Linked DNA regions of Homo sapiens: regions 1, 2 and 4 are each linked to region 3. The links are contacts of gene promoters, found by promoter capture Hi-C in blood cells and fetal thymus (Javierre and others, 2016). All regions are on one chromosome and are shown on one strand. The core of a region is centred on a gene start or on the middle of the fragment in contact, and the rest is flanking DNA. Distances in the headings are between cores, read along the strand shown. Region 1 overlaps KMT2D (lysine methyltransferase 2D). Region 2 overlaps SPATS2 (spermatogenesis associated serine rich 2). Region 3 holds the start of TUBA1C (tubulin alpha 1c). Region 4 overlaps TUBA1B (tubulin alpha 1b).

Evidence for each region. Contacts are between HindIII fragments. The CHiCAGO score rates a contact against its expected background, and 5 or more counts as called.
Region 1: a contact is called between a fragment that was not itself captured here and the fragment with the promoter of TUBA1C in region 3, in 1 of 17 cell types (monocytes). The highest score is 5.9, in monocytes.
Region 2: a fragment that was not itself captured here is called in contact with the fragment with the promoter of TUBA1C in region 3 in 8 of 17 cell types (total B cells, total CD8 T cells, M2 macrophages and 5 more); the score reaches 6.9 in total B cells.
Region 4: a fragment that was not itself captured here is called in contact with the fragment with the promoter of TUBA1C in region 3 in 1 of 17 cell types (monocytes); the score reaches 5.1 in monocytes.

The regions. Positions count from the first base shown.
Region 1 is chr12:49,022,981-49,029,116 of GRCh38, forward strand. It overlaps KMT2D (lysine methyltransferase 2D), which reads right to left. Exons shown (of 55, transcript NM_003482.4): 45 at 6,081-6,136; 46 at 5,848-5,978; 47 at 5,029-5,161; 48 at 4,823-4,950; 49 at 3,202-4,342; 50 at 1,830-1,966; 51 at 1,598-1,728. Among named protein-coding and RNA genes, the nearest start is that of PRKAG1, 7.3 kb to the left of the region's middle. The HindIII fragment of the contact is 8,267 bases long and covers 1-6,136 here.
Region 2 is chr12:49,511,547-49,518,800 of GRCh38, forward strand. SPATS2 (spermatogenesis associated serine rich 2) reads left to right here. Exons shown (of 14, transcript NM_023071.4): 10 at 3,009-3,067. Among named protein-coding and RNA genes, the nearest start is that of KCNH3, 24 kb to the right of the region's middle. RefSeq lists a silencer at 2,281-2,459. The HindIII fragment of the contact is 1,942 bases long and covers 3,592-5,533 here.
Region 3 is chr12:49,260,950-49,268,205 of GRCh38, forward strand. TUBA1C (tubulin alpha 1c) reads left to right here and starts at 4,133. Exons shown (of 4, transcript NM_032704.5): 1 at 4,133-4,235. The coding sequence starts at 4,233. RefSeq lists silencers at 3,455-3,894, 3,935-4,194, 4,549-4,762 and an enhancer at 4,325-4,484. The HindIII fragment of the contact is 8,287 bases long and covers 1-4,856 here.
Region 4 is chr12:49,123,492-49,130,563 of GRCh38, forward strand. TUBA1B (tubulin alpha 1b) reads right to left here. Exons shown (of 4, transcript NM_006082.3): 2 at 6,009-6,231; 3 at 5,751-5,899; 4 at 4,291-5,447. The coding sequence ends at 4,467. Among named protein-coding and RNA genes, the nearest start is that of TUBA1B, 4.4 kb to the right of the region's middle. RefSeq lists enhancers at 4,187-4,688, 4,689-5,188, 6,735-7,029. The HindIII fragment of the contact is 2,267 bases long and covers 2,021-4,287 here.

The DNA.
Region 1 (6,136 bases), core at 1,677-4,176, 240 kb before region 3:
CGTGTGCTGCTGGCAAGCACTGGAAGTGCAGCCTTGGGAAAGGAGTAGAGGCAACTGGGTCTCAGCTCTGGTGAGGAAGCAACTAGCTACAGGGACCCTTCTGACACCCTGGGTGGCACAGAGAGCCCAGGGTGAGGGGTGGGGTGTGGAGGGAGATGGGGGGCACCAATTCCCCTACACTGAGCCTGTTCTCCCATCTCCCACTTCCTACCACTCTCCTGCCAAACCATTCTCAAGGCCATGCTCCTCTGGGAAGTTTTCCGCAAGCAGCCCAGGCCTAGAATTTAAGCTGATGGTTTGCTTGAATGTCTGAATCCTACCTCCTGCACATACTGGAAGCCCTGAAAATGGGGACTGTGCCTACCACGCTGGGCTAGATTTGAATTAAAACTGGCTGTGAACTCACAGCCTAAAGGTGGTATCCTTTCTTCGGACTGTCCCCTTCTCTGACATAACATTGGGCTCTGTGCAGATGGCTCAGTGCAGGGGAATGACGGCTGCCTGGCAGGATGCCTTTTACCACCTTAGGGCACCAGCCAAATTCTTGCCATCCCAGAGCAGTGGTTTTCAAACGTTTCTGGTTCTTTTTTTATTTAGCAGAAATCTTTGCTTTTTTCTTTAACAAAATGTTGACTGGAACTCCAATACATAAACTAGATGACAATGGAGCTCTTCTGGTTTAATCCAATTTGGGGAAGGAAGAGATATGCATGGGAAGGAAAAGTTCAACCCATCAGTTTAAGTGATCCAGGACTTTTTGGAACACAGGCACTCACAGTTTGAAAACCACCATTGCAGGGCATCAAGGACAAGGCTGGCTAGGGATGGAGAGTCTCTGACATTCTACAACAGCCTAGGAGCCACCAAAGACCTTCGAGAAAGCCCTGCTACCACAGATTCTGCCTCCCTCTACCCAGGGACTAAGGTCCCTGGTACACAGAAAGAACAAGGACCTGCAGTGAAGAAGTAAGGGTCTGGTCCCAGCTGTGTGACCTTTGCCTAGTCATTTAATCTTTCTGGGTCTCAGTTTTCTCAGCTGTAAAATGGGGGTCATACCACCTGCCCTACCTACCTCATAAGGTTGTTGTGAGGATCAAATGAGATAATGGATGTGAAAACGCTTTGAAAAAAAAAGTATAAAGTGCTATACAAATGTAAGGTTTTATTATTTTTCTATTATATCTCTAACTATTTATTTTTGACACCAACACTCATGGGGAAGGGAAGGTGACCCTAGCACCCATGGGGTATCTGAGGTTTGGGAGAATCACAGGCCCTCCCCCAGAAGTAAAACAGGAGAAGAAAGAGGTGACCAAGTCCCTTATATATTTCATAAAATTTCACCAGTTTACCCATTACCTCCCCAGGGTGCCCAAGATAATTCTGTCCTATATCCCAAGTGCATCTGAGCAGGTTGGGAGAGGAGGAAAAGGATACCCTACTAATACCTGCATGCCCTCTAATTAGGAAGTCTAAGAGTGATTCCCCATTTTCTCCACGGGAACTCTGATCTGTATCCTAAATCCTCATAATGGGACCAGAGGATCCCTGTCAACACCCACACCCACATCCCTTGGCTCCAGCATCACAAGCTCACCGTTTGTAGTGTGTGAGGATTTTAGGCTCTGATCGGGCACAGCCAGTGGGGTTGATCATGAGTGGCAGCTCCATAAGGGGGTGGCGCCCATAGCGGAATAAATAGTTTTGACAGCTCTCCACCCCGGGCAGCTGTGGGCACAGTTCATACTCACCTTAGCCTGAGTTTTTTTGGGGTTAGGCCAAAGTTCTCAGTGCCCGCCAAGCCCCCCAGCTCCCAGCCCCTTCCTTACTGATTCAGCTATGCGAAGCACGGCATGCACCGTCAGCCCAAAGAGCTCCTCGCCCTTCAGATACTCAGGGAAGAGTCGCAGCATGTCAGCCTCTTTTCTCATGGCAGCCACAGGCTCAATGATGCGATTCCACACGGCTAAGAAGCAGGGAAGAGAGCAGTCCTCAGAGGCAACTTCTGCTCACTGACCTCCAGTCCCTAACCCCAATCCAGAACTGCAGTTTTCTGAGGCCTTCAAGCCTCCCTATCATGAAGTTGTGTTGGTCTTCCAGATCCTCTCTTGGCCTCCTAGTCTCACTCTCTCTTAAGAAGCAGGAGGTTTCCAACCCCAAGGGGTCATCACAGAGCCTTGAGATACAAACCCAGGGCCCAGGAGACCCAGCATAGGCCATGGAAGGTCCCTAGTGAAAGAGCAGGCATGCTTTGGAGTTGGAAAGACTTGGGTTCAGGTTCTAGTACTGGTCATGAGACCTTGAGCCAAATACAGTCACGTGCAGCTTAACAACATTTCATTCAATGAGGAATCATATATACAACAGTGGTCTGGTAAGATTATAATACTGTACTGTATTTTTACTGTATCTTTTCTATGTCTAGATGCACATACTTACCGTATGTTACAACTGCCTACAGTATTCAGTACAGTTACATGCTGTACAGATTTGTAGCCTAGGAGCAATGGGGTATACCGCAGAGCCTAGGTGTGTAGTATGCTATGCCATCTAGGTTTGTGTAGTACACTCTATGAAGTTCACACAATGACAAAATCACCTAACAATGCATTTCTCAGAATGTATCCCTGTCATTTAGCAATGCACGACTGTACTGAAATCTGAGACTCAGTTTCTTTATGAACAAACTGGGCATAATCGTAGTATAATACTTACCTCATAGGGTTGTATGAACAAAATAAACTACACAAATCACTTAGCTTAGTTTGTGGCTCACAGTACACACTCAAAAAAAGGTACCTGCTCTTACTGTTATTTTATCATTAACACTAAAACTAAAATCAAAATAATTCTGATTTCGTCCAGGGAAAAACAACCCCAAGGAACTTGGTTAGGATTAGGTTGGGTGAGGCAGATGATAGTCTCAGAACTGTTTCCTTTTGTTCCACTGGGGATAGCAACAGAACTAGAATATGTGAGATTAGACCAGCAAAATATTTTCAACTACAAGGGAATTTAGGGTGACAAGAGAGGCTCAAACACTTTCACTGGGAGTTTTCAAGAGACCCCCTGCCTGCCTGAGGTGGGGGAAGGAGGATCATTCACATAGAAGCTACAGGTCCTCTTATAGACATTGTAACAGTGACCCTGGGAGAAACTTTTCCCATTCCATATTATCCATTTCAAGGGCCCACTGCTCACCCTGGGGAGAGGCGTCAGTGAAGACCAGGTCCTCCAGGCCCTGCTCGATGACTTTGATTACAAACTCCGGCCGCCCGTTGTTCTCACCAATAGAACAGCGATAGCAGCAGCGACGATTGTTGGTGCGGAGGCTCCAATAGATGCGCGTGGCCTCGTAGCCCACGGGATAGAGGGCAGTGGCACTATGAAAGTCAGCCATCTGGTGAGGCAGCAGCTGTCCGATGGCGTGGAACACAAGGCCCCCCACACGGAACATGTGCAGCCGTTCTCCCCGCTGAATGATGCTAGCGATTTGCTTCACCTCGTCCCGCTCAATGTAGACCCGCCGGAAGACAGCAAAAGAGCTCAGCTCTTGCTCACAGGGCCCCTTGATCTTATGCATTGGACACAGCATGGTCTTGTCCTTGAAGAACATGCACTTGGCACGGATGGCACAAGCAAAATGGTAGACATTGGGGCAACGCATGCGATTGCAGCTGCTGGTGGCACCAGTTCGCTGGCACAGGGAGCACTTGGTTAGCAGTCCTCGGTGCAGGGCAACCTCCACATTCATCAGTGCCCCGCCCTGGGTCTCATACACCTCCGTGGACCAAAGGGCACAGTTGAGGTGCACCCACAGGTCCAGGTCCAGGTTCAGCAGACGGGCAGGCCCATCAGTGGCCCCGTCACCCTCCTCATGACAGAAACAGCAGCGACGCATGTCTCGCGGTACCTTGTCAGGTCGCAAGGCTGTGCCAAGCTGCTCCATAAACTCTGCCACTTCCCGCTCATCCTCCTGCCGCCCACTGCCCTTCTGGATGGTCAGCAGCAGCCGAAGCCGCTTCCAGCGCACTCCTTTCCATTTCTTGAGGCGAGGAGGACGGGAATCTTCACCTTCTTCAGGGGGCCGGGCACGGGGCTTGGGTCGGGCTGATTCAGGGGATGAGGCCAGTGGCAGAGGTGAGGGGACGGGTGGCTCAGCCAAGGGTTCGGTGGGAAGTTCAACCAAGGGCTCAGTAGGGGGACTGGCAGGAGAAGGTGCCAAGGGGGAAGGGGGCGGGGAGGGTTCTTCAGGAGGTGGGGCCGAGAGCTGTCGCACATCCAGATTGGAGACATTGTAGGTATAGCTGTGCTGAGTGGGTGGCTCTGGGGCGGGGCTCTCCTGTAGGAGGGTGCCCTGTATCATTAGTGCCAGCTCCTCATCTAACTAGCTCCCTCCTTCCCCTCACCCATATGCCACCCTCCCAAAAGGCCTCCACATTCTTTGCCCTAGACAGCCTCTTTTTTCTTTTCTTTTCTTTTTTTTTTGAGACACAGTCTTGCTCTGTTGCCCAGGCTGGATCCAGTGGCACAATCTTGGCTCACTGCAACCTCTGCCTCCTGGGTTCAAGGGATTCTCATGCCTCAGCCTTTCGAGTAGCTGGGATTACAGGCACGCACCATCACGCCTGGCTACTGTTTTGTTTTTGTTTTTAGTAGAGACGGGGTTTCGCCATGTTGGCCAGGCTGGTCTCAAACTCCTGGCCTAAAGTGATTCACTCGCCTTGCCTCCCAAAGCACTGGGATTACAGATGTGAGCCACCGCGCCTGGCCGGCAGCCCCTTTTTTCTAACACCCACCCCTTTTTCTCCCCCAGACCTACCTGTTTCAGGAGGCTCAAGATGTCTAGTTGGCTCTTCAGGGTATAGCCAGGCAACACTGCATCAAACTGCTTCAGCCAATCAGGGCCAGTGTCTGGGCTCTTGCCTTCCAGACCCTTTTCCTTCCCACCTGCAGAAAGGAGTGGATCAGAGCCTCCCACCAGAATCACTCCCCTCAAGTCCCAAAGGGCTTCCCTGCCACACTCACCAGGACCCTCAGCTTCCCCCTTCTTTGGCTCAGTGCCTGCCCGGGCGGGGCTCTCTGGGAACAGCACCTCATAGGAGTTGGGGATCTTCATGCTCAGCAGCTCCGCCACTGCCACCATCACGCCATTCAGGTTCTGCCAGGGCCAGGGAAGGGATGGAAGAAACATATCAGCCAAGTGTCTGAGGTGAGCTCTACTACCAGCTGGGTGGGGACAAGGACACCTAGAACCCACTCCCCAGGGTAGTTCTATCCTATGTCACCCAGCTCTTTTCATACACTTCCCTCACAGCAGCCTTTCCCAAACTGCTGTGGGCACTGACGGGAGCTCCACGAAAAGGGAACTACATCAACTACGTTTAGGAAATGATGCATGCTCTATCCATGACTTGGAGGCTCATGATACACGTTAGCAAATTAAAAGGACCTGAGGACTCTTGTAGTAAAGAAACCCATATTGTCATTTTAACTGTGTTTTCCAACTTTCTTTGACCACAAAAGCCCGTTAATATTTTCAAAACAGCTGACAGAGTCCCACCAAACATGACTGGGGCAATGCTGTCATGTAGTACCTGTGTCATTACACACACAGGTGCTCCTTAGTTGTTGACTTGTCTGTCTTTACCATGGGACTACGAGCCCCGTGAGGGCAGGAACCATGATTCATTTACCCGAATCTCACAGCCTCTAGCCCAGGCTTTCACATACAATAGGTACTCAGTACATGTGCTTGAACGACTACATTTTTCCTTATCCAGACAAATTCCAGGGACTGCCCTCTGATCAGGTTCCCCTCAGCCTCGAGGTACCCCTAGGACACACCTTGGCTGCAGCAGCAGAGACTGTGAGCATGACTGACACCTCACTTCCTTTGCCCTTTTCCCAAGTTGTGACAGGCAGCTTTCCAGGGACCTCCAGGCCAAGGGCCCCATAAGGTTTGGTATCTGGGAAGACTGAATGAGAAAGAGGAATTTGTGTAACACTTGGCCGCCTCTCCCCCAGCTTCGGACAACCCAGGTGAACTGGGCCTGGCCCACATCCAGAGTAGCACATACCTGGGATGCTGGCCCGAGGAATGAGGGGGATGACAGGGGAGAGGGCCCGGTCCTCT
Region 2 (7,254 bases), core at 3,313-5,812, 250 kb after region 3:
ATTGGAGTGAGCAAGGTAATAGAGAGTCTGAATGAGCCTTTCATCACTCTCTGGGAGGACTCATTGCTTGCCTTTCTGGCATCTAAAAACCATTACCTCACACCACAGGTACTTTTGAACCTCTTGGCCACACATACATACTGGAACCATTGTTTAGCTCAGAAACAGATGGAAAACTTTAGCTTAAGTTTCTGTGTTAAAAGTTGTGTTACAATAGATTATTGTTTTTAATTGTAAAAAATGCCTATGTTGTTATCCTTACACCTAACCTACTTTCCACTTTGAACTTGTCCCACCTTCTCCATTTATTTTGTGATGCCAACATTTCACTAACTTTTTATTATTAAAACTTTCAGATATATAGAAAAGTTGAAAGGATGGTATAATGACAGTGTATTTGCTGTGTGTGTGTATAATATTTTGGTGGAACCATTTGGAATTTGCAGATGTAGATGACATGTCACCCCTAAATGCTTTAGCATAAATAACCTAAAAATAGGTCATTCTTCTATACAACTATAATGCCATTATATAATTTACTTTTTTGATGTGCTTTTAATAAGAAATTTACTATTAAATTTTGACATTCATTTTTGTATTTTAAAGATGTAAAAATTTTAATGGAGAATTATAAGTGCTGATCAACCTTTTCTCTGAGAAATATATCAGCATCAGTTAACTAGTAGATTCTCTTGTTTAACCCTGGGCTGACATCATAGGACTTTTCACTAGATGTTATCAATAGATGGCAACATGACAAACAACAAACAAAAAGAAACAGAAGTTCTTACTGCTTTTCATTGTTTTTTGGCATGAAAACATAAGCTAATATATGTATTTTAATTTTAATTTTTGTGGGTACATGGTAGCTGGATATATTATAAGCTAGTTTTTTTTTAATGGAGGGGTTATATGGTTGTCCATGCACAGTCCTATGAATTTCTTGTGATCACCGAGTTAATCAAAAACAAAGTTTATTTAAATGAACACTAGTGATTCTCACAGGGAAAAAAAAATGCTATCAGAATGTACTAGCACAAATTTCCACAAAAAAGCCTGATTGTGTTGATGCAGACCTTGCTAAAAGTGTCATCTGACATTCTACTTCTCATAATAGATTGTAAGCTGCAAAAGGCTTACTTGTTTGCTGTAGTCTTTTAATAAATATTTTACAAGCTTTGTCAGAGAAAAAGGATTTGTCATCTGATGGACACAGCGTCTGCATCTTAAGGTGATTTGGCAACATAAGAGAGGTAATGTCAAACTGTAGGCCTGGCAGCTCCTGTCTCAGTTGTGCTTTTGTTTTGTCTTTTAGGTATTCCAATGCTGCTAGAGTTCTTGGAGCAAAATATTGCCAAGGTTTGGGAAATGCTTTCTTAGCAAAGTATTGCTACCCCACAATAATTGTATCTTCTCTCCAGTTTGATGCTTTTGGATTAATATGTCAACCAAATTTGTTTAGTTACAAGTCTGTTTATTAACATCATGCGTAACGATTATCAAACCTATGTTCTCTGGCACTTCCCTATAAAAGATTTGCTCCTTGAGGAAATGACCCTGCCTTAGACATTTTTGTATGTCTCACACTATAGTCTCCACATTAACTACTTTGTGCTAACATAACTATGTATTGAGCTAAATTGAATTAGAGCGAGAGAGAAAGAGTGTGTGTGTGTGTGTGTGTGTGTGTTTGAGTGTGATTACAACCAGAAACAAGAGTGGAACTTTTATTTACCCTGTAGTTATATTCCCCTTCAAAAGGAGAAATCAGAATGAACTCCAAATTTGAAGAAAGTTGGAACATTGCATGTTTGTGCAAGTATTAACATTCTAGATTTTTTTTTCTTTTTGCCACCACAAAGCAAAACCGATATGGTAAGGAAAATTATTTTCATCCAGAGGTTGAATACTAGGGTACTACTGTCTCCTTATACATTGAAGGCTGTGGGCTCTTTTATAACAACATGGAAAAGCTTTATGTGCCTATAAACCATTTATATTTGCAGTGGAAAAAATTCTAATTGCCTATTTAATGTTCTTTTTCTGTAAAAAGCCTACCAGAAATCTGTAATTCCATCCTTCCTAGTTACTATTATGTGTTTCTCAGAAACTAGCACACTATATGTCTATCTTTTGACTACTTTGCATTCTAAGTACTAAAATGTAAGTGGACTTGGTGCAACCATGGTCAGCTGTTGAAGACATACAAGTCCTAATCATGGATAAATTTACTATGCCCTAGTGGGGATATTGCTTGGTAAAAATTAATTAGATGCAAGGCCATCAAATTTTATAGACCAAAATATAAATATAAAAAGTATGAGTACAGGCCGGGCGCGGTGGCTCACACCTGTAATCCCAGCACTTTGGGAGGCCGAGGCGGGCGGATCACGAGGTCAGGAGATCGAGACCATTCTGGCTGACACGGTGAAACCCCATCTCTACTAAAAATACAAAAAAAATAGACGAGCGTGGTGGCGGGCGCCTGTAGTCCAAGCTACTCGGGAGGCTGAGGCAGGAGAATGGCGTGAACCCGGAAGGCGGAGCTTGCAGTGAGCCAAGATCGCGCCACTGCACTCCAGCCTAGGAGACAGCGAGACTCCGTCTCAAAAAAAAAAAAAAAAGTATGTGAGTACATACATGGTTAAGTAAGTAATTTCCACACGGACTTTTGCTTTAGCACAGCTTACTAAAAAATGTGTTTTGTAGCTTGCTACTGCCATCTGCTGGTTCTCAACTCTTAGACGTCTACAATTGGTGTACTGCTGCAATGTACCAATATTGCAATATAAAAGGGAATTGGGTCTATTTATTTTATTTATGGGAAAATCTTAAAATATTCTTTGTTGAGAGTAAGACATCAGAATTTGTATGTGATCCATACAATATTATTTTTTAGTATGCTTTTAGCAAACAAACTCACTGGTCTTTCTTTACTATTAATAATGTGCTAATTTTGTATTTGAGTTTCTGATCAAACTTTTTATTCCTTTGTCATCTTTTCCTAGTTTAATGGATCGAGAAGTGGCGTTGCTTGCTGAAATGGACAAAGTGAAAGCTGAAGCAAGTAAGATGATTGATCTTTAATTAAAGCTATTACCTTCATAAATAGTAGGTACCTACTTCCCAACCCTTATAACAAAAGTTCCATATAAATACCATAATAAGAGTTTATATATTTAAATAATCTTAAGCAGTTGCACTGTACTGGCATATGAATCCTTTCAGGTGAAATAACTTTAAAGAGCCTGTTTTAAAAATATTTCCAAATCTTAATATTTTGAATGCAGAGTTCAGTGTATAAGAGACTGCATCACGGTATCTGCCACCAGGTTTTTATTTTATTTTGTTTCTTCCTCTAGTGTTTAAGCAATTCCACTGGGATTTTTTCTACTTGGAAAAAAACCTTTAGCATAATCAGAGAAGACTTCATTAGGTTGCCTACGATTGTATGTGTATACTCCTATCATTACCTATCTCAGAACTTTCTTTGTTTTCTCAGTTTATAGAACAGTCTTCACTCAGTGTCTGTTATCAATGGGTAGGGGAAAAGTTAGAGAATTGAGGGTTCAAGATACCAGGTTTCTTGAAAGCTTACTAAAATAGATTCTGGAGGAATGAAGTCTAACTTTGGTGATTTGTGGGGTTTTGTACAGAAAAAACAGATACCTATTTTTTGATCATTTCTGTTAAGTGTTAGGTTAAACATACACAGCTACACGAAGACAAGGGAATACCAACTGCAACTTGTACAATGGCATTGATTTGAGGCATTTCGGTGGCAGGTTTTATCTTCCTGCATTGAACGCCAGATTAATTATTAGGAAAGTTGTTTATTTTAACCCACCCCCAAACTGGTAAGAATAGAAATGCTGGGCTAGGTCGAGATCATGACTCACAGTTAAATCACTTGTGTGTGTGGTCACGGGCCAGAGGATGCAGCTTTGAAGCACTGAAATGACTTCAGCTTTGGTCCATTTTAACTTGAAAATTTGAGAATGTAGCAGAGATGCCTTCCACTGTTTTTCAGAGGTGAGATTTCATTACATTGAGCAATATATTTTGAGTTTCTAAATTTGACATTTCAGTCCATTATTTTATCTGTATATTCTCTTTTTGAAAATGGAAATGCAGATAAACTAAAACCACTAAGAAGACATATTTCTTAGTTTTGAGAAGAAGGTCCTTTTAGGCCAGGCGTGGTGGCTCACGCATATAATCCCAGCACTTTGGGCGGATCACCTGAGCCCAGGAGTTTGAGACCAGCCTAGGCAACATAGTGAAACCTCGTCTCTACAAAAAATAAGAAATAAGGCTGGGCGCAGTGGCTCATGCCTGTAATTCCAGCACTTTGGGAGGCTGAGGCGGGCAGATCACGAGGTCAGGAGATCGAGGCCATCCTGGCCAACATGATAAAACCCCGTCTCTACTAAAAATACAAAAATTAGCTGGGCATGGTGGCACACGCCTGTAGTCCCAGCTACTCGGGAGGCTGAGGCAGGAGAATCACTTGAACCCAGGGGGCAGAGGTTGCAGTGAGCCGAGATTGCGCCACTGCACTCCAGCCTGGCAACAGAGCAAGACTCCATCTCAAAAAAAAAAAAAAAAAAAAAAAAAAAAATATATATATATATATATATATATATATATATATATATATATAAATCAGGCATGGGGTCATGTGCTACATGTAGTCCTAGTTAGTTGAGAGGCTGAGGTGGAAGGATCACTTGAGCCCAGGAGGTCGAGGCTGCAGTGAGCTGTGATTGCACCACTGTACTCCAGCCTGGGCGATAGAGCAAGACCCTGTCTTGAAATTAAAAAAAAAGAAGGTGCTTTTAAGAATATTAATACATCTTTTATATTAATAGAAAATTTTGGCCGGGTGCAGTGGGTCACGCCTGTAATCCCAGCACTCTGGGAGGCCGAGGCGGGCTGATCACGAGGTCAAGAGATCAAGACCATCCTGGCCAACATGGTGAAACCCTGTCTCTACTAAAAATACAAAAATTAGCTGGGCATGGTGGCATGCGCCTGTAGTCCCAGCTACTCGGGAGGCTGAGGCAGGAGAATCACTTGAACCCAGGGGGCAGAGGTTGCAGTGAGCCGAGATTGCGCCACTGCACTCCAGCCTAGCGACAGAGCAAGACTCCATCTCAAAACTAAAAAAAAAAAAAGAAAAGAAAAGAAAATTTCAGATAGCGAGGCTAATGTAACAAATTCCCATCACTCAGCTTCAACCAATTATCAATTTGTGGCCAATCTTATTTTATCAAATTCAGAGCTCAAAGTTTTACTTAACTTCATCAGTTTTATATCTTTAGCTCTTTTCTCCCTGAAAATCCTGGTTCTCAATGATATTACTCATTTACCAATGCTATCAAGAGTAATTACTCATTTACCAGTGCTATCAAGAGTTGCTTTTTGTTTTTTACATATTATAATTTTATTAAGTAACTGATAGGTTTGTAGTATTTCAATCTTTTCCAGTGTTGTATAATTAGGTCCTATGAGTTATCTGTTACGTGTAGAAAGCTTTTTATTCACCTCATTTTTGCCATTTTGAGAGCTATAATTTTGTCATAGAATCACTGAATGCTAGAGCTGAGAGAAACTGAAGTTGATACAAATGGCAAATAGGTTTTATCTTGGGACCTAAACCAATAGATCATTTGTAACTGTTGGGCTTTGGCGTTAAGAAACTTTTGTAGGCATGCTCCTGACTCCTGAGAAAGTGGGCCCTGATTGATTAGTGTGACTTGGGTCTAGGCAGCCCATGTGTGCATCTCTGTGGCAGTTGGGCTGAGTAAACTTGCTAAATACATCCAGCTCTCTGTAATACCTGGTGTAACTCTTTAAAACTTCTGTTTTTTTCTGACGTGAATTTGGCTAATTCCTCAGTGTGTTACAGGATTCTATGTATATCAGTTAGGGATTGAGTTTGACTACATGGAACAGAGTGGCCTAAATAAATGTGAGTGTCCTTTTTTCTCAGAAAATGAAAAGTACAGAGGTAAGCAACCCAGGGCTGGCAGGACATTTCCCAGATGACATTAGGGACCCAGGATCTTCTGTTCTTCTGCCCAGCCATTCTGAGAGTATGCTTATGGTCAAAAGACAACTCCCTAGGCTCCAGTCGAGAAGGAGTAAAACGTTACATGCTAAGACTCCCTTAAAACGCTTTCCTGTAAAGCCTGCCCTTTGAGTTCTGCTTATATCTCAATGGGGAAACTATATCACATGGCCGTTTCATCTGTAGCAAAGCCAGAAAATATAGATTTTTTTTTTACCCAATTATGTTGGTACCCAACAACATTGGATTTCTGATAGCCCTGAATGTTCCTGAATGTAGTTGGAAAGACTGTGTTCCATCAGCTAATGGTCTTTGCTACAGTCCTCCACTACCCAGTATCCCTCTTTTTTCCAAAATGAGAATATGTTCACCACCTCCTCAATAGCAATACCTCCAAAGTCTCATCTAGTTAGTTAATATTCAGCTGAAAGGCCAGGTCTTCAGAGTGATTTCAGATCTTCCAAGGATGGGGTCTCATAAATTAAAAGAAAGGCTAAATGCCCCCTTCTCCCATATTACATAGTTGGAGAAAGAAAAGGATAATTATAGTAAAAATTCCCACTTGGAAAAGCAATGATCAAATCTTGCTGGATGGGAAGGAATAGCAGAGTCCCTTCCCTGGTAGTAGAGAACATTCGTTGGGTGGTTTATCTGCTTCCTGGGAGGATTTCTTTGGTTTTGTTTCCACTGTAGCCCCTGTCTCTCTGGGAGATTTTTATTGTATGTTCTCTGCCATGACCATATCCAAGTTATATATCAGAAAGCATGCCAGAGAAGGTGGTTCTTAAAAGGGTGTAACAATCTAAATACCCATCACTAGGGAACTCGGTAAATAATTGTGGTATATCCACATACTGGGTGGCTGTTAAACAGAATGAAGGTGATCCAGATGTATTAATAGGGAATAAATTTAAAGATATATTAAGTAAAAATAGCTAAGGTAAAAGAAAGACCATGTGTATGATATACTTCCATTTGTGAGAAGGGAAAAAAGAGAGCTACATATGTATGCATGTTGTATGTACATACACAATATTTGGATGTGTACGTAAGAAATGGTGAACAGTCGTTTCCCCTGGAGAGGAGACCACAAAATCAGAAATAAGAGAGATGCTCTTTTCATTTTATACCCAACTTACTCTAGATGAATATTTTTTATTATGTGTACATATTTCCTTTTT
Region 3 (7,256 bases), core at 2,883-5,382:
TCTCGAACTCCTGGACTTAAGCAATCTGCCCACCCTGGCCTCCCAAAGTGTTGAGATTACAGAAATGAGCCACCTCACCTGGCTGAAATGCATAAATCTTAAAAAATGCTTATTGTAGGCTGGGCGCAGGGGCTCATGCCTGTAATCCCAGCTCTTTGGGAGGCCGAGGCAGGCAGATCACCTGAGGTCAGGAGTTTGAGACCAGCCTGGGGCTCAGTGGCGCTGAGCCAAGATAGCGCCATTGCACTCCAGCCTGGGCAACACAGCGAGACACCGTCTCAAAAAAAAAAAAATGCTTATTGTAAAGAAGGTTGTTCAACTGCAGAGTCCTAGCTGTCCTTTGGGGTTGTTAAAAGTAGGGTAAATTTTTTTTCTTGTTACATTAGTAACCTTACCATAGGACTACAAATTCAATAAATGACTTTTCTAGGACTTCCCTTTCCCTGTTAACTAGAGCCAATAACAGGCTGAGGAAGAACCTAGAATAAAAGAGACAACTGTCATTGTAGGTATTTAATCTGACTCCTATCTCTTGTGGTTTGGGGTAAATTATTTCAAGTCTCAGGACTTTATTTTCCACAGTTCCATAATAAATACCTTTGTAAAAACTCATTTATAAAAACTCTACCAAGGCACTATTGCAGTAGAAAACATTTTGTTATAAATTTCTACATAAGCACAAAATATTCCTACATCATTAATTGTATCATGTAATTTGTAACTGAACACAAACAAATACTTCAGCATTACTAGTATCTCAGCAAAGAAAACAGGAGTTAGGCTGAAAAAAAATAAGGTTCAGTTTTATCTGAATTCTTTTCTCTTTACTAATGTTTTGTGATGTTTTGTGAACATGCTATATGGTCATTTAAAGCCCAAGAAAGCTGCAGTAGGTATGCAACGCTTATTTCCCTAAAGCATTGTAAGATTACAACGAAAGCCCCATCTGTAATTATTTATCTAATGTTCTGGTGATTCTTCAGTCAAGATGTTGACTGAGGAAGCATGTTTTCTCCTTTGCTCATATTTGTAGAGCTCACATGAACCCCACAAACTTTGAGTCACACATCACAGAATGTTAGGGCTGTAAGGGCCTTACAGAGGATCCTGTCCAATCTCCTCATATTGCACATTCAAAACCTGGACCCTGAGGAGGGGAAATGTCCATCCAAAGTTATATATTAGCCAGGCGTGGTGGCTCACACCTGTGATTCCAGCACTTTGGGAGGCCAAGGCAGGAGGATTGCTTGAGCCTAGGAGTTCAAAACCAGCCTGGGAAATATAGTGGGACTTCATCTTTACAAAAAAAAAAAAAAGATTAGCCAGGCATGGTAGCACACACCTGTAGTCCCAGGTACTTGGGAGGCTGAGGCAAGAGGATTGCTTGAGCCCAAAAAGTCGAGGCTGCACCACTGCACTCCATCCAGGGTGACAGAGTGAGACCCTGTGTAAAAAAAAAAAAAAAAAAAAAAAGTTTTATAGCAAAAAAAAAAAAAAAGGCTGATCACTGAACCGTGTCTTCTGTCACCCTATTAATAATTTAGCATAGTCTGGGCAAACTGGCTCATGCCTGTAATCGCAGCATTTTGGGAGGCTGAGCCTGGTGGATCACCTGAGGTCAGGAGTTTGAAACCAGTCTGACCAACATGGTGAAACCCCATCTCTACTAAAAATACAAAAATTAGCTGGGCATGGTGGCACATGCCTGTAACCCCAGCTACTTGGGAGGCTGAGACAGGAGAATTGCTTGAACCTGGGAGGTGGAGGTTGCAGTGAGCTGACATCATGCCATTGCACTCCAGCCTGGGCAACAGAGCGAGACTCCATGTCAAAATAATAATAATAATTTAGCATATTTTTGGTGAATTCTGGAAACTGTCAACTGAAAAGTAAGTCCAGTTTCTGCCTCTCCTTACACTGTAATTTTTAGACTCATAAAGATCTGTTAACATAAAGGTTAAATGTTTAACTGTCTACCCAGGAAATTTTTCCCCAAAAAATTCCAGCAGAGGGCAGCAAATCTAAATATGGATCCCAATGCTTAAAATTAATTTAAAGTACAAGAGAATTACTCTTTTTTTTTTTTTTTTTTTTCTGAGACAGAGTCTCTGTCACTCAGGCTGGAGTACAGTGGCACGATCTCTGCTCACTGCAACCTCCACCTCCCAGGTTCAAGTAATTCTGCCTCAGCCTCCCGAGTAGTTGGGATTACAGGTGTGCACCACCATGCTCGACTAATTTTCACATTTTTTGGTAGACATGGGGTTTCACCGTGTTAGCCAGGCTGGTCTCAAACTTTTGACCTCAAGTGATCCGCCCGCCTCCCAAAGTGCCAGAATTACAGACTTGAGCCACTGCGCCAGGCCTGTTGGTTGTTTTTCTTCCCTATCCCACTCCCACTTCCCTATCTTCCCTATTCCCTCTCCATGAGGCAGAGCCATCAGTTTTGCTCACAAACATATTCCCTAAGCATCTCGGATACTGTGCTAAATATATCTGGGGAATGAATGAAAAAGTTGAAAAGCTCTACTAAGACTAAAATCTCTACACATATGTTCCACAAGGGCCATTTTGTATGTGTGAGTTGAAGTATATCTTGAACTCCTGACCTCAAGTGACCTGCCTGCCTCGGCCTCCCAAAGTGCTGGACTTACAGGCATGAGCCACCGTGCCCGGCCAGAAAATTCACTTTTGTTCCCTCAATATTTCCATAAACTCTGTATCTCCCAGAGATGGTCAAGGAATTCATGAGCTAAGATAACATGATAGAGTTGCAGAGAAACAAAAACAACAGAAATAAAAGGCGCTTCTGAGAAACCTTGGCAGAGATGGTCAGAGAGGCACATTTAGTATGACGCAGTACAAGTTAGTGTTGAAGGGTTTAATTCCTCGGAGCTCTACTTTCCTCATCTGTAAACTAGGGATAATAATTCATAGAGTTTGTCATATGGATGAAATGTGATCATGTGATATGAAAAGCCAACTACTCGGCCAGGCGCGGTGGCTCACGCCTGTATTCCCAGCACTTTGGGAGGCCGAGGCGGGCGGATCACGAGGTCAAGAGATCGAGACCATCCTAGCTAACACTGTGAAACCCCGTCTCTACTAAAAATACAAAAATTTAGCCAGGTGTGGTGGCACGCGCCTGTAGTCTCGGCTACTCAGGAGGCTGAGGCAGGAGAATCGCTTGAACCCGGGAGGCAGAGGTTGCAGTGAGCTGAGATCGCGCCACTGCACTCCAGCCTGGGTGACAGAACGAGACTCCGTCTCAAAAAAAAAAAAAAAGCCAACTACTCTGCATAGTTAGCAATCAAAAAATGTAAGCTATTCATTATCCTAATGAACTGAAAAAACTGCTTTTGCGCCTATCGGGAGGAGACTGTTAGAAGCCAAAGGCTCATTTAAAGAGGACGTAAGGAAAAGCAACCAAAAAGGTGGGAATAGAGTTTAAGGCGCGTTCGTGGTGATTCAGACCTAGAGTGGGGAGCAAGCCCTCTCTCTGGACAGCCCTCAGCGGCGAGGGGAGCGGGCGCCCGCGGGCCCAGCCGGGGTGCCCGGCAGCCAGGACTCCGAGGCGGAACCCGCAGCCTGGTCCCGGCGTCGGCGCCTCCCCGGCGGCGTAGGGAGCGCAGCCGCGGGGACCGGGGGCGAGGCCGGGGCGGTGCAGTAAGGGCTTCCCTCCTGGGCGCGGTCGCCCTCTTACCTGGAGCTTCCCCTCGCTGGGGTTTTGCCCACCTGACGCCCCCGCACCCACCGGGGACGGGGCAGACGTCCGGCCTGCTCCCTCCTCCCAGTGGACACCTCTGTCCCTGTCCCGGCCCATTCTCCAGCCCCAGAGCCCTTCCTGCCCTTCCTCCCCTTCCTCCCCTTCCTCCCCTTCCTCCCCTTCCTCCCCTTCCTCCCCTTCCTCCCCTTCCTCCTCTTCCTGCTCCTGGCTCCTTCCGACGAGTTTGGTTTGAACTTTTGAATCCGCCAATCAGCGCCGCGCGCCCCCACTCCGCGGGTGCGGCCGGGCGCAGGCCAGGGCTCGAAGGTGGGGCCGCAGCGGCACGGGGCGGGGTCTGGGGCCCGCCCTCCCGACACGTGGCCGGGGACCGGGTATATAAGGCCCTTCGGGGCCGGCCACCCTTTCACTACTTCTCCCCCGGACTCCTTGGTAGTCTGTTAGTGGGAGATCCTTGTTGCCGTCCCTTCGCCTCCTTCACCGCCGCAGACCCCTTCAAGTTCTAGTCATGGTGAGTGGGGTTCCCTCGGGGCTGGGGAAGAGTGCGCGTCCCAGGGGACGGCGGGCCCGGAAACTACTGCCTGCACCTCGGGCCGCGCCCAGGACAGCTCCAGACTACCCCGGGCCCCTCCGGTTAACCTGGCTTGTGGCGGCCGGGCTGGAAGGTCGAGTTCACTTGGCAGACACCAGTTCGGGCCGGAAAACCTGGCCCGGGTGCGGCCATCAGTGGAAATGGAAAGCCCTCTTGATCCTAGTGAGGGCTTTCCCCGCAGGGCCCGCTACTGCCCTAGGGAGGAAGGTCAGGGAGCCTGCTCATTGGCCTCCAAGAACTTAAACTAAAAATCCCTCCCCACGTTTTCTCAAGCGACCTCTCCTTCCTACTGCCTTACAAACTGGGCCCCGGAGGCCCTCGTGCGCTCCCGCACCGACGGTGCAGCACTTCCTGGCTCCCCCTCTCCAGCGCCCAGTGACTCGCTGCTGAGTCACCTGTGGCCCTGCCCTGGGGAGAGCTTCCAACTGCGCCAGTCCACTTGAGAATGGAGGCAGGCACCTCCTTGGAAGGGAATAATTAACTTTCACGTTGCCTAATCCTGCATTTCTGGTGTTAATCTAGTGGTAGGTTTATAGCTGAAGCTTTCTACTTAAGCCGGGTTTAAAAACACGTCCACAAAAGGATATTTTCTTATAAAACCAGAGTTGGCCCGGCGCAGTGGCTCACGCCTGTAATCCCAGCACTTGTTCGAGACAAACCTGGCGAACATGGTGAAACCCCGTCTCTACTTTAAAAAAAAAAAAAAACAAAAAAAAACGCTGGGCGTGGTGGCGCGCGCCGGTAATCCCAGCTACTCGGGAGGCTGAGGCAGGAAAATCGCTTGAACCCAGGAGGCGTAGGTTTCCCTGAGCCGAGATCGCGCTACTGCACTCCAGTCTGGACGACAGAGCGAAACTGTCTCAAAAAAACGCAAACCCGGCCCGGCGCGGTGGCTCACGCCTGTAATCCCAGCACTTTGGGAGGCTGAGGCTGGTGGATCACGAGATCAGGAAATCGAGACCATCCTGGCTAACACGGTGAAACCCCGTCTCTACTAAAAAAAAAAAAAAAAAAATTAGCTGGGCGTGGTGGCAGGCGCTTGTAGTCTCAGCTACTCGGGAGGCTGAGGCAGGAGAATGGCGTGAACCCGGGAGGCGGAGCTTGCAGTGAGCCGAGATCGCGCCACTGCACTCCAGCCTGGGCGACAGAGCAAGACTCCGTCCAAAAACAAAAAAAAACCCGCAAACCCCAGAGTAAACTAGTACCACGTGTTCTTAGTTCAGTTTTCAAGAAACGTGAAATTATACGTAACTTGAGTGTTTTCTATAAAGCTTCCAGAAGTATTGAAAACAACTATCTTAGGCCGGGCGCGATGGCTTATGGTTGTAATCCCAGCACTTTGGGAGTCCGAGGCGGGAGGACCGCTTGAGCTCAGGAGGTCGAGACCAGCCTGGGCAACACGGTGAAACTCCGTCTATACTAAAAATACAAAAATTATCTGGGCGTCGTGGTGCGTGCCTGTAGTCCCAGCTTCTCGGGAGGCAGGGGTGGGAGGATCTTTTGATCCCGGGAGGTGGAAGCTGCAGTGAGCCCAGATCGCACCACTGCACTCCAGCGAGACCTTATCTCAAAAATACGTACATGAATTTAAATATAAAAATCAAATGTAAATACATGTATATGTCGCACTGTAACAACTTATTGCTTCTTTTCAAGCAGTACCAAAAAGATACTGGTAAAAGTGGGATTCACAAAGTAGTGAGACCCTTTAAAAAGCAGGAGAGCGGCAGCGGACTGGTTTAGGTGAACACTGGTTAAATTTTCTTGTTTTTTAACGAGAGGTAAGAGCTGCTTATCCAGTTAACACTAGACCAATTGACTCCACCTGTGCCTCACTTTCTCCCACGTGGCCAGGGGAGAGTGGAGGGTAAGTCAGTGGCCGCTGACTGCCTGCTAAGCTTCAAGAAGGCAGTTTAGACTGAGCAATGAAAGAAAAATTGCGGGCGCAAAATAGAAACGGCATTTAAACAGAAGAAGCATTTGTTAGAATGAGTGGATCTTCTCAGATACTTTATCTCCTTGGGCCTGGGGGCCATCATGATCAGGTATCTGGTTATCTCCAGCTTTTTGGGGCTTGGGCGTTTCCAAAGTCCAGTTAAAGGTAAACATGATGCCGGGCGTGGTGGCTCCCGCCTATAATCCCAGCACTTTGGGAGGCCGAGGTGAGTAGATCACCCGAGGTCAGGAGTTCAAGACCAGCCTGGCCAACATGGTGAAACCCCATCTCTACTAAAAATACGAAAATAAGGCAGGCATGGTGGTGGGCACCTGTAATCCCAGCTACTTGGGAGGCTGAGGCAGGAAAATCGCTTGAACCTGGAAGGCGGAGTTTCCACTGCACTCCAGCCTGGGCGACAGAGCGAGACTTTTTCTCAAAAAGGTAAACATGATGCAATGGTAAATAGTCATGGGCTAATTAGAACAAACTACTCCTGTTCTCCCACACCCCTGGAGCTGGGTGAGTAGACCCAGGTGATACTGAGCTTGCTGATGTGGTTAAGAGACCTTGATTGTTTCATGGGGAGTGTAGGTGGGAAGGAGGTCAAAGGTTGTGAGTAATTAGGGTTTTTATTATCTCTTGGCTTATGAGACCAGGTCCTTTGAGAACTTAGTGCTCTGCCAGTCTCCAAAGTGGCTAATCTGACTTATGATGAAATGCCAAACACCCTTTTTGTTTTCCTGTTAAGTCTGTGTGTACAGATTCTATGTTTATTCCCTTATTTTACTTAGCAGGTGTGGGTTTGGTAATTTCTAACCATATTCTGCTTTGGCCCCTCTGGCCTTTCTAAATTAACTTGGTCCACCTCATAAATATATATCTATGAGAGAGAGACACACACACACAGACACAGACACAGAGTCTTGCCTCTGTTGCCCAGGCTGGAGTGCAGTGGCGAGATCTCTGCAACCGCCACCTCCTGGGTTTGGGTTCAAGTGATT
Region 4 (7,072 bases), core at 1,904-4,403, 140 kb before region 3:
AAACCCCGTCTCTACTAAAAATACAAAAAACTAGCCGGGCGTAGTGGCGGCCACCTGTAGTCCTAGCTACTCGGGAGGCTGAGGCAGGAGAATGACGTGAACCTGTGAGGGAGAGCTTGCAGTGAGCCGAGATGGTGCCACTGCACTCCAGCCTGGGTGACAGAGTGAGACTCCGTCTCAAAAAAAAAAAAAAAAAGAAAAAGAAAAAGAAAAAGAATCTGGCCTAAGAGAAATTACCATTATTTATTTTTGGTTCCCTAGAAGCATTTTTTTTTTTTTTTGGAAACAAAGCCTCACTGCCGCCCAGGTTAGACTGCAGTGGCACGATCTCGGCTCACTGCAAGCTCCGCCTCCCTGCAAGCTCCGCCTCCTGGGTTCACGCCATTCTCCTGCCTCAGCCTCCCAAGTAGCTGGGACTAAAGGCACCCGCCACCACTCCCGGCTAATTTTTTGTATTTTTAGTAGAGACGGGGTTTCACCGTGTTAGCCAGGATGGTCTCCATCTCCTGACCTCGTGATCCACCCGCCTCGGCCTCCCAAAGTGCTGGGATTACAGGCGTGAGCCACCGCGCCCGGCCTCCCTAGAAGCATTCTATGGGCATTACCAGGCACTGTACTTGCTGCCCGGGCAGAGGTATAGATAAGATGACTGCAGTGCCATTTCATTCTAGCCATCCCCTCCCCCATGGCCCACACATAATATATCATTTAACCCAAGGCCTTAACTTATAATTATTAGTATTCATCTTGGCCTGGTGTGGTGGCTCACCCTTGTAATCCCAGCAGTTTGGGAAGCCAAGGAGGGAGGATCACTTGAGGTCAGGAGTTTGAGACCAGCCTGGCCAACATGGCAAAACCCCGTCTCTACTAAAAATACAAAAATTAGCTGGGCATGGTGGTGCAGGCCTGTAATCCCAGCTGCTCAGGAGGCTGAGGCAGGAGAATCCCTTGAACCCAGGAGGCAGAGGTTGCAGTGAGCCGAGACTGAGCCACTGCACTCCAGCCTGGCAATAGAGCGAGACTCCATCTCAAGAAAAAAAAAATAGTAGTCATCTTGATGTATAAAACAATTTTAAAATTTTTTTTTTCCTTTGAGACGGAGTTCGCACTTATCACCAAGTCTGGAGTGCAATGGCATGATCTCGGCTCACTGCAAGCTCTGCCTCCCGGGTTCAAGCAATTCTCCTGTCTCAGCCTCCCAAGTAGCTGGGATTACAGGTGCCCACCACCACACCCAGCTAATTTTTGTATTTTTAGTAGAGACGGGGTTTCACCATGTTGGCCTGGTTGGTCTCGAACTCCTGACCTCAGGTGATCCACCCACCTTGGCCTCCCAAAGTGCTGGGATTACAGGAGTGAACTACTGTGCCCAGCTTAAAATGTTTTATTGTATATTTTTGAGAGTTTCACTCTGTCACCGAGGCTGGGGTGCAGTGGCATAATCTCAGCGTGAGCCCCCGTGCCCAGCCACTAATTTTGTATTTTTAGTAGAGTTGGGGTTTCGCCATGTTGGCCTGGCTGGTCTCAGTCTCCTGACCTCAGGTGATCCACCTACTTTGGGCTCCCAAAGTGATAGGATTACAGGCGTGAGCTGCTGTGCCCGGGCCTCTCAGTTCTTTAAAGGTGTCTGCAGCTCGGCACACCCAGCGACTCATGCCTGTAATCCCAGCACTTTGGGAGGCCGAGGCGGGCAGATCACGAGGTCAGGAGTTCGAGACCAGCCTGGCCAACATGGTGAAACCCCAACTCTACTAAAAATACAAAAATTAGCCAGGCTTGGTGGCAGGTGCCTGTAATCCCAGCTACTCGGGAGGCTGAGGTAGGAGAATCACTTGAACCCGGGAGGCGGAGGTTGCAGTGAGCCACGACCACACCACTGCACTCCAGCCTGGGAGACAGAGCGAGACTCCATCTCAAAATAAATAATAAAATAAAAAATAAATAAAGATGTCTGCTTTCCCTTGGAACCTGTGATGGCTACATTTTTGTTGCTATGCTAGGCCTGTAGGCTCCCCACCAAAGCTTTTTCTCTGAATTGTTCATGCCAAATCAGATTACCTTTGGAGCTGAGAGTTGCAGTCATCCCTTAGTATCCCTGGAGGATATCAAAATCCATGAATGCTCAAGTTCCTTATATAGAGAACTCTGGTGTTTGCATGTAACCTGCACACATCTTCCTGTATACTTTAAGTCATTTCCAAATTACTTATAATACCTAATACAATGTGAATGCTATGCAAATAATTGTTATACTGTATCATTTAGTGAATAAAGGGGACAAGTATATGTTCAGTTCAGACACAACTATCCATTTTTCCAAATATATATTTTGAGATAGGGTCTTTCTCTGGCACCCAGACAGGAATGCAGCAGCACAATTACACTGGCTAATTTGTTTTTGTTTTAGTTTTGTAATGACAGGGTCTCCCTAGGTTGCCTAGGCTGGTCTCAAACTCCTGGGCTCAAGTGATCCTCCCGCCTTGACCAAAGTGCTGGTATTATAGGCATGAACCACTATGGCCGGTTGCTTCCAAGTATTTTCAATCCAGTTAGTCAAATCTAGATATGGAACCCACAGATAGGGAGGGCTGACTACATTTTGTAAATTTATAGGATTTATGGGCTAAAAAAACAAAAAACAAAAAACTGGGAAAATTGTAGACTTCCCTACTTTTTTTTTTTTTGAGATGAAGTTTTGCTCTTGTTGCCCAGGCTGGAGTGCAATGGCGCAACCTCGGCTCACTGCAACCTCCGCCTGCTGGGTTCAAGCAATTCTGTTTTTGCTTTTTTTTTGAGATGGCGTCTTGCTCTGTCGCCCAGGCTGGAGTGCAGTGGCGCGATTTCTGCTCACTGCAAGCTCCGCCTCCCAGGTTCATGCCATTCTCCTGCCTCAGCCTCCCGAGTAGCTGGGACTACAGGCGCCCACCACCACACCCAGCTAATTTTTTGTATTTTTAGTAGAGACGGGGTTTCACCGTGTTAGCCAGGATGGTCTGGATCTCCTAACCCCGTGATCTGCCCGCCTCAGCCTCCCAAAGTGCTTGGGATTACAGGCATGAGCCACCACACCTGACCCAAGGTTCAAGCAATTCTGCCTCAGCCTCCTGAGTAGCTGGGATTACAGGCATGCGCCACCATGTCCGGCTAATTTTGTATTTTTAGTAGAGATGGAGTTTCTCCATGTTGGCCAGGCTGGTCTCAAACTCCTGACCTCAGGTGATCCACCCGCCTCAAGCCTCCCAAAGCGTTGGGATTACAGGCATGAGCCACTGCGCCTGGCCTCTTCTTTTTAAAAAAATGCCTCATGTATTCTTTCAGTCTTGAACCAAGAAGACATCAAGGTCTTCAGCAGCCATAATTTTCCTGTGCTTTCCGGATTTGAAATCTACGTTTTCTCCTAGGTTAAATCCTCTATTTACATTCTCTGTGCCTACAAGTCTGTTACATGTAGCCAAAATACTTGAAAGGATGTAAACCATGCCAAATGCTATAAATTATAAACTTTTATCCTAAACTTTCCAAAGTTGCCGCTTTATCCTCATGTAATGCAGTCCTCTCCCACCAATGCATATGGCTTATTGTTTAGCCTTCTTACCTAGCATGACTTTTATTGACCACCATGAGTTCTGGTCCTTTTTCCTATCACAATAGGGCTGGAAACAGCCTTTACCTCACCACCCTCAAATATTCCTAGTCAGATGTTTTTCCCAGGTCACTGTTTTGACAGGATCTGTCACCAAGGCTGGAGTGCAGTGGTACAATCACAGCTCACCACAGCCTCAATCTTGTCAGCCTCTCAAGTAGCTGGGCTTATAGGCTCACACCACCACACCCAAATTTTTTTTTGTAGATGGAGTTTCATCATGTCTCCCAGGCTGGTCTTGAATGCCTGGGATCAGAGGTGTGAGCCACCATGACCAGCCAAAGATCACTTGGAAATTTCTTAATTACACTAACAAGTTAGCAGGCCACTTTAAACAGCAGCATCTCAGTGGATATTCAAAACTTACACTTCCTATACATTACTCATTAGTAACTACCCAGTCTTACTCTGAAGAGCTAAATGAGCTTTAGATTAGCAGAATGACTTTCCCCACCCCCTATGCAAGCGTTGAGGTGGTAAACTAGTCTGAGAATCTAGGGCTCCTGCCTTTCTAGTCTGTTGAGCTCCCTTTTCCCTAGAGGTGCCTGCACAGTAAGTGGGATCCTTGACACCAGACTCTCTATACTCCAAGTATAGATGAATCTAAAAACCAAGGCACTTTTAGAAAAAAACGCAGGAAACAAAGCTTTTGATGTTAATGACTTTACTTTGAGATATGATGGAAAAATATTACAGGTACACATGGAAAAGACATGATCACCAAGTGAAAACAATCTAACCAGAAAGCTTTAACGTCTGTCAGTTAAGCTGAAGCTGAAATTCTGGGAGCATGACATGCTGCAGGGCCAAAAGGAATGGATAATTAGTATTCCTCTCCTTCTTCCTCACCCTCTCCTTCAACAGAATCCACACCAACCTCCTCATAATCCTTCTCAAGGGCAGCCATATCTTCACGGGCCTCTGAAAACTCGCCTTCCTCCATCCCCTCACCCACGTACCAGTGAACAAAGGCACGCTTGGCATACATCAGGTCAAACTTGTGGTCCAGGCGAGCCCAGGCCTCAGCAATGGCTGTGGTGTTGCTCAGCATGCACACAGCTCTCTGTACCTTGGCCAGGTCTCCACCAGGCACCACAGTGGGAGGCTGGTAGTTGATGCCAACCTTGAAGCCAGTGGGGCACCAATCCACAAACTGGATGCTGCGCTTGGTTTTGATGGTGGCAATGGCAGCATTGACATCTTTGGGAACCACGTCACCACGGTACAACAGGCAGCAAGCCATGTATTTACCATGGCGAGGGTCACATTTCACCATCTGGTTGGCTGGCTCAAAGCAAGCATTGGTGATCTCTGCTACAGAAAGCTGTTCATGGTAGGCTTTCTCAGCAGAGATGACAGGGGCATATGTGGCCAGAGGGAAGTGGATGCGGGGGTAGGGCACCAGGTTGGTCTGGAATTCTGTCAGGTCAACATTCAGGGCTCCATCAAATCTCAGGGAAGCAGTGATGGAGGACACAATCTGGCTAATAAGGCGGTTAAGGTTAGTGTAGGTTGGGCGCTCGATATCGAGGTTTCTACGACAGATGTCATAGATGGCCTCATTGTCTACCATGAAGGCACAATCAGAGTGCTCCAGGGTGGTGTGGGTGGTGAGGATGGAGTTGTAGGGCTCAACTACAGCTGTGGAAACCTGGGGTGCTGGGTAAATGGAGAACTCCAGCTTGGACTTCTTGCCATAATCAACTGAGAGACGTTCCATGAGCAGGGAGGTGAACCCAGAACCAGTTCCCCCACCAAAGCTGTGGAAAACCAAGAAGCCCTGAAGACCGGTGCACTGGTCAGCCTGTAGGGGAATAAAAAAATGTAATATTTTAATGCCAGGACACATTATCTTAGAATTTCTATTTCAACTTTTTAGATTACGAACCATATCTCACTGATGTAAGCACAAGGAATTGGCAAAACAGACATATCCACAAACTGTCCATAACCTAGGGACTATCTGATTTAGAAGTCCAATTAATATAGCAAGCAGCCTATTCCACATTTTGGTAGGTGCCAAAGAATGAATGATGTCAGTCACTCCACCCAACTTGCACTGGAACTATCACACCACATTAAATGCATATTTATATGTGGTGCTTACCAGCTTGCGAATTCGGTCCAACACAAGGTCAATGATCTCCTTGCCAATGGTGTAGTGCCCTCGGGCATAGTTATTGGCAGCATCTTCCTTGCCTGTGATGAGCTGCTCAGGGTGGAAGAGCTGGCGGTAGGTGCCAGTGCGAACTTCATCTGGAGGAGGGAGAGAAGGACGGAGGGAGTGAGTGAGTGACAAGAGAAGCCCCTGGACAGACCTCCTGTCCCAGCATCCTGGGATCTCAGGTTACTGAGGTCAACTCACCAATGACTGTGGGTTCCAAGTCTACAAACACAGCCCGGGGCACGTGCTTGCCAGCGCCCGTCTCACTGAAGAAGGTGTTGAAGGAGTCATCTCCTCCCCCAATGGTCTTGTCACTTGGCATCTGGCCATCGGGCTGGATGCCGTGTTCCAGGCAGTAGAGCTCCCAGCAGGCATTGCCAATCTGGACACCAGCCTGGCCAACGTGGATGGAGATGCACTCACGCTGCGGGAAGGAAAAAAGATATCACAATTTAAACCAATCTATTGATGACTGTCAAGTGGAACAAAATACTCATGCAATCTTTATTTTTTTAGAGATAAGGTCTGTCGCCCAGGCTTGAGTGCAGTGATGCCATCTAGGCTCACTGCAGCCTAGGCTCCAGTCATCCCCCCACCTCAGCCTCTGGAGCAGCTGGGACCACAGGCACAGACCACCAAGCTGGCTAATTTTTTCATTTTTTTTGTGGAGATGAGGTCTGGCTGTGTTACCTAGGCTACTCACGTAATCTGAAAACGAATTTCCTTTTCTAAAGCGATCTTTTCTAAAGATCCTTTTCTAAGATGTACTACTTTTGAGAACAGCTACACTATAGTCTACGTTGCTTTTAATGAATGTTACCTTCCCATCCTAAACCGGGAAGGCCTCCTTCCAGACCAAGACAGCTCAGTCACAGCTTCCTCCTTTGGAGGACCAAGACAGGAAGGTGGGCATCCATCCAGCGCTCAGGCCCCAGAAGCCCACTTTAGACTAGGTGGTCACATTTCCGGGCAGCTCCTAGCACAGGAAGCACGTGGCCAGACCAGCGCAGAAGAAATGTCTGTCCGCAGGGACAAGGGGCGGGGCTCTGCGGCACAGGATGAATGAGCAATTCCGGGCGCGCGCTCTTGCGCCCCCCGGCGGTGCTGCAGAGGCACGAAATGGCCACGTCTGCAAAGGCGCTGCCCAAGCCGCCCATCCTCCCTTGCCTGCCGGCATCGGGCTCAGCCTAACACCTCCACAGCAGTCTGAGCGCAGTAGGAGATTATCGGCGGCCCAGATCTGGGTCAAGATCCGATTTCCGTTC